Linked DNA regions of Homo sapiens: all the other regions are linked to region 3. The links are contacts of gene promoters, found by promoter capture Hi-C in blood cells and fetal thymus (Javierre and others, 2016). All regions are on one chromosome and are shown on one strand. The core of a region is centred on a gene start or on the middle of the fragment in contact, and the rest is flanking DNA. Distances in the headings are between cores, read along the strand shown. Region 1 holds the start of VAMP1 (vesicle associated membrane protein 1). Region 2 holds the start of MRPL51 (mitochondrial ribosomal protein L51). Region 3 holds the start of ATN1 (atrophin 1). Region 4 holds the start of CD27-AS1 (CD27 antisense RNA 1).

Evidence for each region. The method cuts DNA at HindIII sites, captures the fragments that hold promoters and counts their contacts. A CHiCAGO score of 5 or more calls a contact.
Region 1: a contact is called between the fragment with the promoter of VAMP1 here and a fragment that was not itself captured in region 3, in 1 of 17 cell types (non-activated CD4 T cells). The highest score is 6.0, in non-activated CD4 T cells.
Region 2: the fragment with the promoter of MRPL51 here is called in contact with a fragment that was not itself captured in region 3 in 1 of 17 cell types (non-activated CD4 T cells); the score reaches 5.3 in non-activated CD4 T cells.
Region 4: the fragment with the promoter of CD27-AS1 here is called in contact with a fragment that was not itself captured in region 3 in 2 of 17 cell types (non-activated CD4 T cells and total CD8 T cells); the score reaches 7.0 in non-activated CD4 T cells.

What each region holds. Positions count from the first base shown.
Region 1 is chr12:6,469,368-6,472,128 of GRCh38, reverse strand. VAMP1 (vesicle associated membrane protein 1) reads left to right here and starts at 1,452. Exons shown (of 5, transcript NM_014231.5): 1 at 1,452-1,599. The coding sequence starts at 1,598. It also overlaps a transcript of TAPBPL not described here. RefSeq lists silencers at 901-1,160, 1,371-1,420, 1,921-1,970. The HindIII fragment of the contact is 5,218 bases long and covers 882-2,761 here.
Region 2 is chr12:6,491,800-6,494,682 of GRCh38, reverse strand. It overlaps MRPL51 (mitochondrial ribosomal protein L51), which reads left to right and starts at 1,421. Exons shown (of 3, transcript NM_016497.4): 1 at 1,421-1,625; 2 at 1,711-1,821; 3 at 2,216-2,797. The coding sequence starts at 1,547. The coding sequence ends at 2,412. NCAPD2 (non-SMC condensin I complex subunit D2) reads right to left here and starts at 581. Exons shown (of 32, transcript NM_014865.4): 1 at 529-581. RefSeq lists a silencer at 624-953 and enhancers at 389-986, 1,154-1,203. The HindIII fragment of the contact is 4,003 bases long and covers 1-1,616 here.
Region 3 is chr12:6,925,982-6,928,707 of GRCh38, reverse strand. It overlaps ATN1 (atrophin 1), which reads right to left and starts at 749. Exons shown (of 10, transcript NM_001940.4): 1 at 324-749. LOC124902868 (a long non-coding RNA gene) reads left to right here and starts at 1,012. Exons shown (of 2, transcript XR_007063194.1): 1 at 1,012-1,181; 2 at 2,583-2,726. RefSeq lists silencers at 751-910, 1,091-1,140 and an enhancer at 2,165-2,726. The HindIII fragment of the contact is 151 bases long and covers 1,372-1,522 here.
Region 4 is chr12:6,450,267-6,453,059 of GRCh38, reverse strand. CD27-AS1 (CD27 antisense RNA 1) reads left to right here and starts at 1,543. Exons shown (of 6, transcript NR_015382.2): 1 at 1,543-2,719. It overlaps CD27 (CD27 molecule), which reads right to left. Exons shown (of 6, transcript NM_001242.5): 3 at 2,708-2,793; 4 at 2,430-2,519; 5 at 2,046-2,165; 6 at 1,347-1,792. The coding sequence ends at 1,668. TAPBPL (TAP binding protein like) reads right to left here and starts at 1,018. Exons shown (of 7, transcript NM_018009.5): 1 at 748-1,018. The coding sequence starts at 811. RefSeq lists enhancers at 719-1,318, 1,749-1,908, 1,999-2,208. The HindIII fragment of the contact is 9,942 bases long and covers 1-2,793 here.

The sequences.
Region 1 (2,761 bases), core at 203-2,702, 460 kb after region 3:
TTAGGAAATGCTGCATCACCAAAGCCCTTATGAAATGCACAGAGGACTACATTGCGTGGAAATTAGTGGACATCCAAGACTGAGTCAAAAAAGTGAATCATTAACAATCAGTCTCTGTGAAGTTTTAGGGATAGTTACCATGTTATTGTTTTCTATTTCCCTTTTTATGCATGCACAAGAGTGAAATATAGAAATCGGTATGTATATAAACCCATATTTTCAATACATGTAAAACAAAAATGCTAAGTGGTAAGGAAAGCATTTGTCACAGATAATTTGCAACCTTTTTTCTTTTTTTTTTTGAAACAGGGTCTTGCTCTGTTGCCCAGGCTGGAGTGCAGTGGCGTGATCTCGGCTCACTGCAACCGTCGGCTCCCGGCTTCAAGCGATTCTCTTATCTCAGCCTCACGAGTAGCTGGGATTACAGGCGCCCGCCACCATGCCTGGCTGTTTTGTATTTTTAGTAGAGACAGAGGTTTCGCCATGTTGGCCAGGCTGGTCTCGAACTCCTGATCTCAGGTAATCTGCCTGACTCGGCCTCCCAAAGTGCTGGGATTACAGGTGTGAGCCACTGCGCCCGGCCTTGTAACCTTTTTTCTTAGCGGGACATAAAATAATGGTGAATTTTCCAACTGATGGAGTCCAGGAAAGGGATAATAGTGAGCAGAGGGGAGATAATCACTGGAATGCCAAGAAGGAAAAATCAACTCGATTTGGCAGATTACTGGGGGAGAGGTAAAGGTGAAGGGGAGGAAATCTAGGATGGTTTCCACGTTTCTGGTCTGGGCAACTGAGTCGATGTGGTAACCTCGACTGGAGCAGGTTTGGGAGGGAGTTCAATTTAGGAAGGCTATGTTGAAAGAAACGAATGAACGAAAGCTTCGTGCTTGCTTTGGTGGGACGGAACCCCGCATCCGGTATCTGGCACCAGGAGCTTGTGGCTGTGTCTCGAGGCTCCTGCACCCTCTCAGAGCGTTAGTTAGAGGCGGGGCGGTGGTGCGGAGCGAGGGCCAGAGCAGGGCACCAGGGCTGGGCGCGCACCAGGAAGCCGCCGCCTCCAGCTGAATGCGCGAGTCCCGGCGCGGGGTGGGGCAGGGGCGGGCACGGTCTTCAGTAACTGCCTAGCGATTGGTTGGGAGGCACCACAAATGCCTAACAAACTGCTGAAGCGCCCTCCGAAGGGACAGACCTCATCTCCACCCCGCCCCGTCCCTCCGCCAGACTGGAGCGCAAACTATGGTCGCATTGATCACTGAAGGATCCTCACAGCAACCGCTCCTTTCCGGAGTCGGATGAGAGGAGAGTTGTGACTGGCAATTGGCAGGGGCGGGGCGGGCTAGGCCTGTAGCGCTGGGCGACCGTCCTGGGCATGGATTGGGCCGCGGGGTTGTCACCGTTATCCGGGAGGCGTGGTCAGCACTAATAAAGGCGGAGGCCGGCGCGGCAGCTGCAGTAAGTTCCAGCGCAGCTAGACCGCGGGGTAGTCGGCGCGAGGCGGAGCTTGGCAGTTCCGTCCACTTCAGCCGCAGCGTCCCTCACCGGGTGTCTCGCCGCAGCCTCCGGAGAGGAACAGACCCTCACTCTCTCTGTCAGAAAAATGTGAGTTGACTCTGGTGTGGGGGCTCGGCACCTCCTTGACAACTCTCGCCCCAAGCTCCCGATTCTGCGGGACGGAAAATGGCGCAATGCAGCAGCTGCAGCAACGCGGGGAACTACCACCGCGCGCCGCTTCCGGACCGGGCCACCCCCAGGGAGGGGGGCCAGCACCCCATTCTCGCACCAGCCACAGCTAGCACCCCACGGGCGGGGCAGGGGCGCAGGGGTCCCACAATCATTGCACCCTCTCCTCTCGTCTGAGTGGCGCCTCATTCTGGTTTTGGTATAGTGGAGACTCGGAGAGGGCGGGGGCTGGGGGTGGTGGATGGAGACAACTGGGCAGGGGACTCGAAAGGTATTTCTGTCATCTGGCTAAATCACTACTCAGCGCCTCAGGAAAGACAGTCATGGGTGCAACTGCCAGTTGGTAACTTATGTTGCCCTACAATCTCTGGATTTGTTTACCCCTCACCCAAAGTGTGATGTCTAGCCCCCCTCATGGCAGTGAGCAAAGCTGCAGAAACTTATCTGCCAGTTCTCTGGCACCAGGTGAGCAGCTCAGAAAGACTCAAGGGGTAGTGGGATAGTGGCCTGTCATCCCAAGCGGCTGTTCATACCAAGGCCATTCGTATAGGAGATGTTTTTCTATCACCGAGTCTTACCAAATAGTTGGAGGAGAAATAGGGAGAGCTGAGCTTTCCCCCTTTCCTCCAACACACACAGTTTAGTCTCCAGCAGTCTTCAACATCACCCCCTTCGCATGATCTTGAGGGAAAACTACGGCTAAACAAACGAAGTACTTCTCTGTCAAGACCTCAATATGTCTAATACAGATTTTTCTTTCTGATTACTACCCTGGCCTGGTCCTAGATGTATTTATGTTGCTTCTCTAAGTGACAAAAAAGGGAAAGATTTACTTGTGTTACATAAGGGTTGTAATTATCCCTAGATATTTTACTGTTGAGTGTTTCCAACTCCCAACAAGTAGTAAGTGAAATTGGCCTTGCAAATACTTCATAGCCATTTCACTTTTTCTTTTTGATTTCTATGGTTTTAACCAGATATGAGTGTTCTATGCATTTTGGGCAAGCCGTAGAATTCCAGTTGTTTTCATTTTGGGGAGGGGGCTTCCAGATAGTATCTACGTGGGATGAACAGAAGGCAA
Region 2 (2,883 bases), core at 172-2,671, 430 kb after region 3:
TAATGTGCAAAGTACTATTATTTCCATTTTTATGTGCAAAGCTCCTTAAGTATAGAGAGAATGGTCTGATCTCGTCTGAGGCCAAAACAGTGCCCCAGCATGGGCTAGTGGGCTTCCTGCACCAGAATGGTAAGAGCATTAACAATGATGATTTATTTATCCTGTGCCAAGTCTGTTAGGCTGTTTGCATGTATCATATCTGATCTAAGTATCCTAACCTCAATCCCATGAGGTGCATAATAATACAAATGAGTTTACAGAGCGGAAATTGAAGTAAGAAAGTTAAGCGATTTGCTTAACATCTTCCGTTGCGGATCTGTTAAGCGATTTGCTTAACATCTTCCGTTGCGGATCTGTTAAGCGATTTGCTTAACAACTTCCGTTGCGGATCTGTCAGACTTACAGTTTCTCACACATCGCGCCCCAGGGATATACTTACTAGGCCTATTGTATTTTGCCCAAGACTGGGTCACACTGCCATGTACTCGACTTTCCTACTCTTTTACGACCTGCAACACCACATCTTACCTGGGGATCTCACCCGCGGCTCTGATTCCGGCAGTCAGGCTGAAATGAAAAGGAAAAAACACGCGTGCACAACACGCACCAATTAGCAAGGCAGTTTTCAAGTCGGCGGAGAATCCGGCCAATCCCCGGCAGGCAGAGGCAAAGGGCCGCCTCTGAGTCTGGCAACGCGCGGGCAAAGCCACAAATACCGAGTTCAAATCTCAACGGCTGCAGGACGGCCAATCGCGACGCCCGCCGGAGCGGCCGGCCAATCACAGCGCCGCCCGGGGGCGGGCCAAGGCTCCGGCTCCGGCCCCCGCTCCCACCCCCGGCCCGCCTGCGAATCCCTCCTTGGCCGCAAGGTCCCCCTTTGCCCAGTCGGCGGGGAGGAGGCCGTATTTCTGCTGGCCAGAGACGTCGCGTCCCTGGCTGGGCATTCAGTCACCCCCAGGAAAGGAGGCAAGTCCACGCTGGGAGTTAGAAGGCATCGCCTCTAATCCAGGTTTCGCCATCTCCTCTGCTAAGTGACGTCCAGCAAGTCACTTCACTTTCAGGACCTCAAATCTCCTCCCCAGTAGTAAAATAGGGGTAATAAAAACAGCTACAGCGGAAGACTGTTGTGAGGCACAGAGAAAGGGCTTGGTCATTGGAAGCGGGTTCCAGGTTCTCAACCTTCATTTCCTTCACGGTTGAAGGACGCCAAAGAAAGCGGAAAGGGTGAATTTTCTTGAAATCTCAGTTTTGGGGAATCTTAGCGACGAGTCGCGGACCTCAGCTTGTCCGGCGCTCCAAAACTTCCGGCAGGCGGACCGGAAGCACTGAGGCGGGAAGGGTGGTAGAGGCCCCTCCTGCCGGAACCCGGGGGGCGGGGCTCGTGGCTGTTGCGGATGGGGCGTAGGTGGGCGGTGCGCCCACAGCTGCCTGGGTAAGGCCCAAGATGGCTGTCTTCGCCTTAGTACTCGTGTGAAGTTGGCGGGGACGGTTCCTGTCATCTTCTTGGGCTTATTTGGTGTGCTGTTGAAGGGGGGAGACTAGAGAAATGGCAGGGAACCTCTTATCCGGGGCAGGTAGGCGCCTGTGGGACTGGGTGCCTCTGGCGTGCAGAAGCTTCTCTCTTGGTAAGTGGCTGATGTAGGCACCCCGATAACTGCTTCGTAGTATAATAGGCGGCTCAGATTAATTCCCTCCCTTCCCCATCCCCAGGTGTGCCTAGATTGATCGGTATAAGGCTCACTCTCCCGCCCCCCAAAGTGGTTGATCGTTGGAACGAGAAAAGGGCCATGTTCGGAGTGTATGACAACATCGGGATCCTGGGTAAGACTTGACCTTCGACGTGGTACACAATTTCAGAATGGCAATTAGGCTGTAACGACTATCTTTTCCTCCTGTGTAGAGAGTGGTACTGTGCTCAATAGTAAGAGCAAACACTTATGTAGCTGTTTACATTGTGTTTGGCACTGTTCTGAGTCCCCTCGTATAATTTTTACTTCATAAGTAAAAATAAACAGTTTTTCCAAAGTTAATAAATGGCAGCATCAGAATTTTAACCCCAAGCAGTCTGGCTCCAGAGTCTGTGCTATTGTTCTGTACTGTAATGTTCCTTGTCTATAGGTGCTGCTCAGCAAGATGCAACCGTGGGTTGAAAGCTTAGCTGGTGTAGGATGAGTTCTCTTGTCTTGGATCTAATGTGTTCTCTCACATTACACAGGAAACTTTGAAAAGCACCCCAAAGAACTGATCAGGGGGCCCATATGGCTTCGAGGTTGGAAAGGGAATGAATTGCAACGTTGTATCCGAAAGAGGAAAATGGTTGGAAGTAGAATGTTCGCTGATGACCTGCACAACCTTAATAAACGCATCCGCTATCTCTACAAACACTTTAACCGACATGGGAAGTTTCGATAGAAGAGAAAGCTGAGAACTTCGGAAAAGGCTCATCTGTCACCCTGGAGAAGGGAAACTGTACTTTTCCCTGTGAGGAAACGGCTTTGTATTTTCTCTGTAATAAAATGGGGCTTCTTTGGAATTTGATAGCCACATACTTTTGTTTTCCTCTAGATGCTGCCTCTACTCATGTAGACTATGAAGTCTTGACTCATCCTAGATCTTAGGATCTTAGGTTTGGGCTTCACACCACTTGCCTTTTACAGTCTAGCTATACCTAATTCCTTTAAAAAGAAAAGTTGGTGAGAATGTTATTGGCGCTTTTTGACATAATGCTGTTATGTTAATAGTGTTTCTAAAGAGCCTTCCACACTGAAATGAAATATAAGAGAAAAATGGAGTCATACTTCTGTACTACTCTCATAAAATATTTATTAGGCATATTCTCTGAGTAGGAACTATAGGAAAAACAAAAAAGTGTGAGGTGTCCTT
Region 3 (2,726 bases), core at 198-2,697:
GATGTTCCTCCTCTTTTGAGTCTGCGGGTCCCGGATACCCTCTGGCCCCACAGGCCTCCTCCGGAGACCCTCCCTCCTTCCCCACCTTCCCGATCCTCCCGAAACCCTGGCCCCCGACTCTCCTCGGCGGGCCCCACCCCCTGAGCCCCCGGCCCTCAGGCCAGGCAGAGCCCGCAGTGGGGGGACGGGATTGGGAAAATAACAAATGGAGGCGGCGGCGGCAGGAGGGGGAACTGGGAGGGGTGGGGGTGGGGAGCCGCAGGCCGGAGCCCGGGCGGGACAGAACCCCGCGGGCCCGGGGCCCAGGCGGCCGCAGACCTTACCTGCTGGTAGCTCGGGACGGCTGGCTGGCTCCGAGCGGGATTCCGGGCTCCGGCGCCTCTGGGGGGCGGCGGCGGCAGCTCCCCCGCCCCCCTCTCCTCTTCTCGGCCTCAGTCGCCGCCGCGACGACGGCGGCGGCGGCCCCGACCCCCCCGGAGGGCGGCCCCCATCCCCCCTTTTCCCCGCCTGGCCCCAATCGCCCGCCGGCCCCCGGAGCAAACCCCGATCCCCGCTCTGCTCCCCACCTCCCCGGGCTCGCCGCCTCCCCCTGGCCGCCCGGAATGCCCCGGGCCGCGCCGCCCGCCCCCGCCGCGCCGCCCGGCCCCGCGGCCCGCCCGGCCCTCGGCGCGGTTCCGACCCGCCGCCGCCCGCGCCCGCCTAGCGCAGCCCGCACCCGCGCGATCCCGGGCCCCTCGGCCGCCTCGCCCGCGGCCCCCGCCCCTTCCCCGGCAGTCGGCTCCCTCTCCCCCCTCCTAGCCCCTCCCCGAAGCCGCGGTCCCTCCGAAATGGCCCGGCCCGAGGCCCCGACCCGGCGCGGGGCTGCGGACGGGCTGGGCGGTGCGTCCGGCGACTCGCACAGGAAAGCGGACGGCGAAGGGAGGGAGCCTGGGAGAGGGGGATGGGAGAAGGGAGGAAGAGGGAGAAGGAGGGAGCGCGGAGGAACGGAGGAGAGAGGGGCCAGGAGGGAGACGCGAGGGAGGGAGCGCGAGGCAAGCCGCGAGGGGGGAGAGAGGGGGAGCCGGAGAGGGGGAGGCGCAGCGCGAGTTGGCCGAGGCCGAGGCCGAGGGGGCCGGGGCGCGGGGAGGGCTAGCCGTGGCGGAATGTGGGGAGCCCGCGGGCCCGGCGCGGGAGAGGGCTAGGTAGGAGGGGCTGTGGGTGGTGAGGGCAGATGAGGGGAGGCTGAAGTTTGGGGGCGAGCGGGTCTGTGGCAGAGGTGAAGTGGGAGGAGTTTGGGGGATCCTGGGGTAGAGATTGGGATAATGGGATTGGATTGGAAAGATGGAGCTGCCTGGGGGCTTTGTGGGTGCCTGGTGAGAAGTGAGAGAAGCTTGGGGTGAGGGATCTGTGGCAGAGATGGAGCCAGACGGGTTTGGGGGCTATTATCAGAGAGAATGGGATGGAAGTTTGGGGTCATAAGGAGAGAGAAAAATTGAAAAGATGACATATATAGAAAGATGGGGCTTCTGGAAAAAGTAAAGCTTTTGGGGGTGATTAGTGTTGACAAAAGAGTCATAAATATAAGAATTGGGGGTGGGGGGATGAAGGAATGCTGGAGAGAGAGAAGTCCAGAGGAAACGTCAGTGAGGAGAGAGAGGAGGGAACGCGTGAGGAACCTTAAGAAGGGATGAACGAGGTGGGCCCAGGTGCCAATTCTAGGGAAAATAGGTTCTGGGTGAGAAAGGAGGGCTCTGGATGGGAAAGAAGGGTGGGAGACACCGGGCTGGCTGGATCCTGGGGGTGGGGGCTCCCAGTAGAGCCGAGGAGGGTTTACTTGGGCGGGCAGAATGGGGAAGAGGGGGATAAGAAGATTGGAAGGAAATGTAAGCTGAACAAGGCCTATGGCTGGCGGCAGTATGGAAGAGGAAAGATCATGGATGGGAAAAGAAAATGGAGATGGGGCCGGTGCGGGGGCTCACGCCTGTAATCTCAGCACTTTCGGAGGCTGAGTCGGGTGGGTCACTTGTCAGGAGTTCAAGACCAGCCTGGCCAACATGGCGAAACCCCGTCTCTACTAAAAATACAAAAATTAGCCGGGTGTGGTGGCGCATGCCTGTAATCCCAGCTACTCAGAGGCTGAGGCAGGAGAATCCTTGAACCTGGGAGGCAAAGGTTTCAGCAAGCAGAGATCGCGCCACTGCACTCCAGCCTGGGAGACAGAGCGAGACGCCGTCTCAAAAAAAAAAAGAAAAAATGGAGATGGGAAACGAGGGCAGTTAAAGGAAATGACAGATGTGGGAGCGGGGGGAGGTTGCTGGCAAGCTCATGGGTAGATAGGTAAGGGATACAGCTTGGAGGAGTGAGACACCATCCTCAGGCCTTCCATCTAGTGGCATCTCCATTTTCCTTCTCAAATCTGTTGAAAGTCATCACTAAAGATCCCCTGGGTCACAGGGAAGCAGTCGGGTGAAGACTGGGCTTAATGTGGACCCAAATCCCTGGGTATCCTTGTTGCTCAATCCCACTTGTTCTAAGGTGGAGACAGTCCCCACCACAGACTGCAGGCTCCTCCCAACCCTTCCTCTCCCTCCCCTGCTCTCCAGGTAGCCTCTGGCAGTCAGTCTGCTCCCGGCCGTGAAGCCAGCACCTCCGCCAGCCCACCACCAGTTCCTTCTCCTGGGCTCCCTCCTGGCCCTCCACCAAGCGGCAACATCTCCCAGGACAAAGGACACAGGGTGATTTTTGGC
Region 4 (2,793 bases), core at 294-2,793, 480 kb after region 3:
CAAAGGCTGGGGTGAGCACCGCCTTCCCCAGAAAGCTACTCCACACTTGCTTCCTGCCCCCGCCCTCAAGCTGTGGAGTCATCAAAGGGTAAAAGTTGCCATCCAAGATCCTAGCTGTTTCTGTGTCCCTCTATTCTCCCGTCATCCCCAAACCAGCTTTCTGGAGAGCACCTGCTAGTCCAGGCAAATACTTCTTGGTGAGAGTTAAAGTCCTGGATTTGCCTTGCTCAGAGGAGTTTATGCTTGCATTTCCAACTGTTGAATAAAAGACTATCTTTTCAGTCAAAGGAATTCTCAGAAAACAAGCAAGTGCCACCGCAGAGAGAGGAGACTGGACAGTTACTGTTGCTGGGGCACTGACAGCCTGCACTGCTTTCTCCCATTTCGGGTAGCCTTCCCCTCCCCCGCCTTCAAGGTCACCTTCCAAGTGATTTCCTCACCTGGGGAGTCCTTTCCTCTTCTGAAGTGTCAGCTCCCAGGCCAGTGCCCTCTCTGTAGGACAGTGGCTCCTGACCACAGCCACAGAGGCAGCCCCTCTTTAGCATTTTCCCTGTGGAGTCCCCACCCTCCCTCCACACACACTATTGGTTCCTTCCTTTGCCAGCCGCTGAGCCTTTCCCCTGTTGGGCTTAGAAGGCGATGGGGTCATCCCCGGCCCCTTTGCTCTTCTGGAATCTCGGGGAGGGTGGCACCCTGGGGCTTCAGTAGCTCTTCTCCCAGCCAGCTCTCCCCGACTCCCAGACTCACTGGTTTCTGCTGCTCCAGATAGAGCCAGGCAGAGCAGCAGGCACCAGCCCTCCTGTGTGCCCATGGAGGCTGCTCTCGAGTTCCCTCCTTGCCCACCGCCCTTCTCCACAGTCCTACGCTGCTTGCGAGGCCCGGCGGAAGAAGGGGGCTCTCCAAGCACACCTGGCAGCCTGCAGCCTTTAGGTTTCTTCCCTGTTCCCTCTGCTGCCGACTTTTCTTTCACTTTCACTTAGAGCAAGATGGCAGCCCGCGTCCCTGTGTGAAGCCGTCTGCAGCAGCTGCCAGAGCCCTGCTTGCTGTTTCCTTTCTCACCACCCACCTCACCCGGAAATCCCCTGGTGATTTCAAGACCTGACCTCTGCACCCTTTTGCTCCCCACCTGTCCCAAAAAAGTGGAGCTATAACTGTGGGAAAAGGGGATCTGAAGTCAGACACAGGATCCACAGTAGCCTGGGGACCTTTCTCACCCCCGCCCTTAAGCAGGCCCCAACATAACCGGCTGAGAAACCTCCTCTGCCAGATCCTGACCTGAGCCAGGAGGCGGCCAGGAAACTGGATTTTGGGACTGGGATTTCAGAGAGGAAGCTGGAGAGCTGCAGGGTGGTCATCTGTCACTTTATTTTGCCCGTCTTGTAGCATGTGGGTCTTTCGCAGCAGGAAGTGTGTTTTACAACCAGAGCCCCCGCCCTCCTGCAGCGCAGGCGCAGCTGGCTGGGCTCCTGCTTCCCACTCTCCACCTCATCCATATTTGTCCTCGTCCCTGCCAGTCTCGAAAAGGCACTCTGTCACGTGTACACAGGAAAGGGCCCTGACAAGAGGATGGGACTGCAGTTGTGGCTGCCAGGTCTCACTCTCCCTTGGATGGTCGGCGGGGTGGGGGTGGAGGCCAGGGCTGTAGTGCAGCTCCCGCAGGTGCTGGCTCAGGGGGAGCAGGCAGGCTCCGGTTTTCGGTAATCCTCCTGGATGGGGATGGTGCTGCCCTCCTCCTCCCTGGGGCAGCTGTAATGACAAGGCTCTGCAGGCTCCACAGGACTTTCTCCTTTGTCTGCAGAAGGAGATCCGATGAGTCTTGGCCAGCAGTGGGGGCAGGGGGAGACGGGAGAAGGAGATGGGTAGAGGCGGGTGCGCTTGGGGGAGGGGTGTCAGGAGCACGCCAGCTAAGGGGAGAGAAGGGGTAGGACCAAGGCTGGTGAAGTGGAGCTGGTGGGTTTCAGTGAGATTCCAGGCGTGGGCAGTGGGGTTGAGCCAGTGGGGTGTGGTGCAGGGGCAGGACCGGAGGCCTGTGTTCTGTCTCTTACTTGATCTATATTTCCTTCGTTGATGGAGGAACAGGGCCCCGGCCAGGGTGAAAACAAGGAACATTCCAGAGAAGATCACAAGGATGCGAATAAAATCGGAGCTGCACAGGGATCTTTGGGCTGTAATAGGAGGGGACACACAGGGGTTAGGGGAGGGTCTAGCCCTTGGCTCCCTCAGCCCAGCCCTCCTGTCACCTTGCCTCTCCCCTTTCCCCCACCTTATTCTATCCCACCCGCCACCGTTGGCCAACTCCTCTCCTAAACAGTGGACTCTGCTTTTTCCCCTCCTCTTATCCCTAATCCTAGGAGCTTTCTGTCTGGCTTCCCTCCTGGCCCCTCGTGTATGCATTCTCTCTAGCGGTGGGGATTAAGGAGAAAACTCACGTGGCCAGTGGGTAGAGAGAGTCCGGGCAGGCAGCTGCCTGAAGTCAGCCAGAGTCTGCATGTGCCCAGCTGTCCTGGCCTCCAGCATCTCTGGAAAAACAGAGACAGAATGAGTAGCAGCAGGGGACCCCATAGGGCACATCTGAAGGCCTGAGAGGTGCTGGATGGGATGGGAAGGCAGAAACAGGCTGACCTTATCTAGGGGTAGGAGTGGGGAGTACTGGTTGGGGTATCACCGCTACCCCACGTGATGGCACAGAGAGTTGCCTGGAACTTACCACTGACATAAGGTAAGTGGGTGGGCTGAGGGTGTGGGCTCAGGGCCTGAGACGACCGAGCGGTCAGCGAAGGGTTTGGAAGAGGA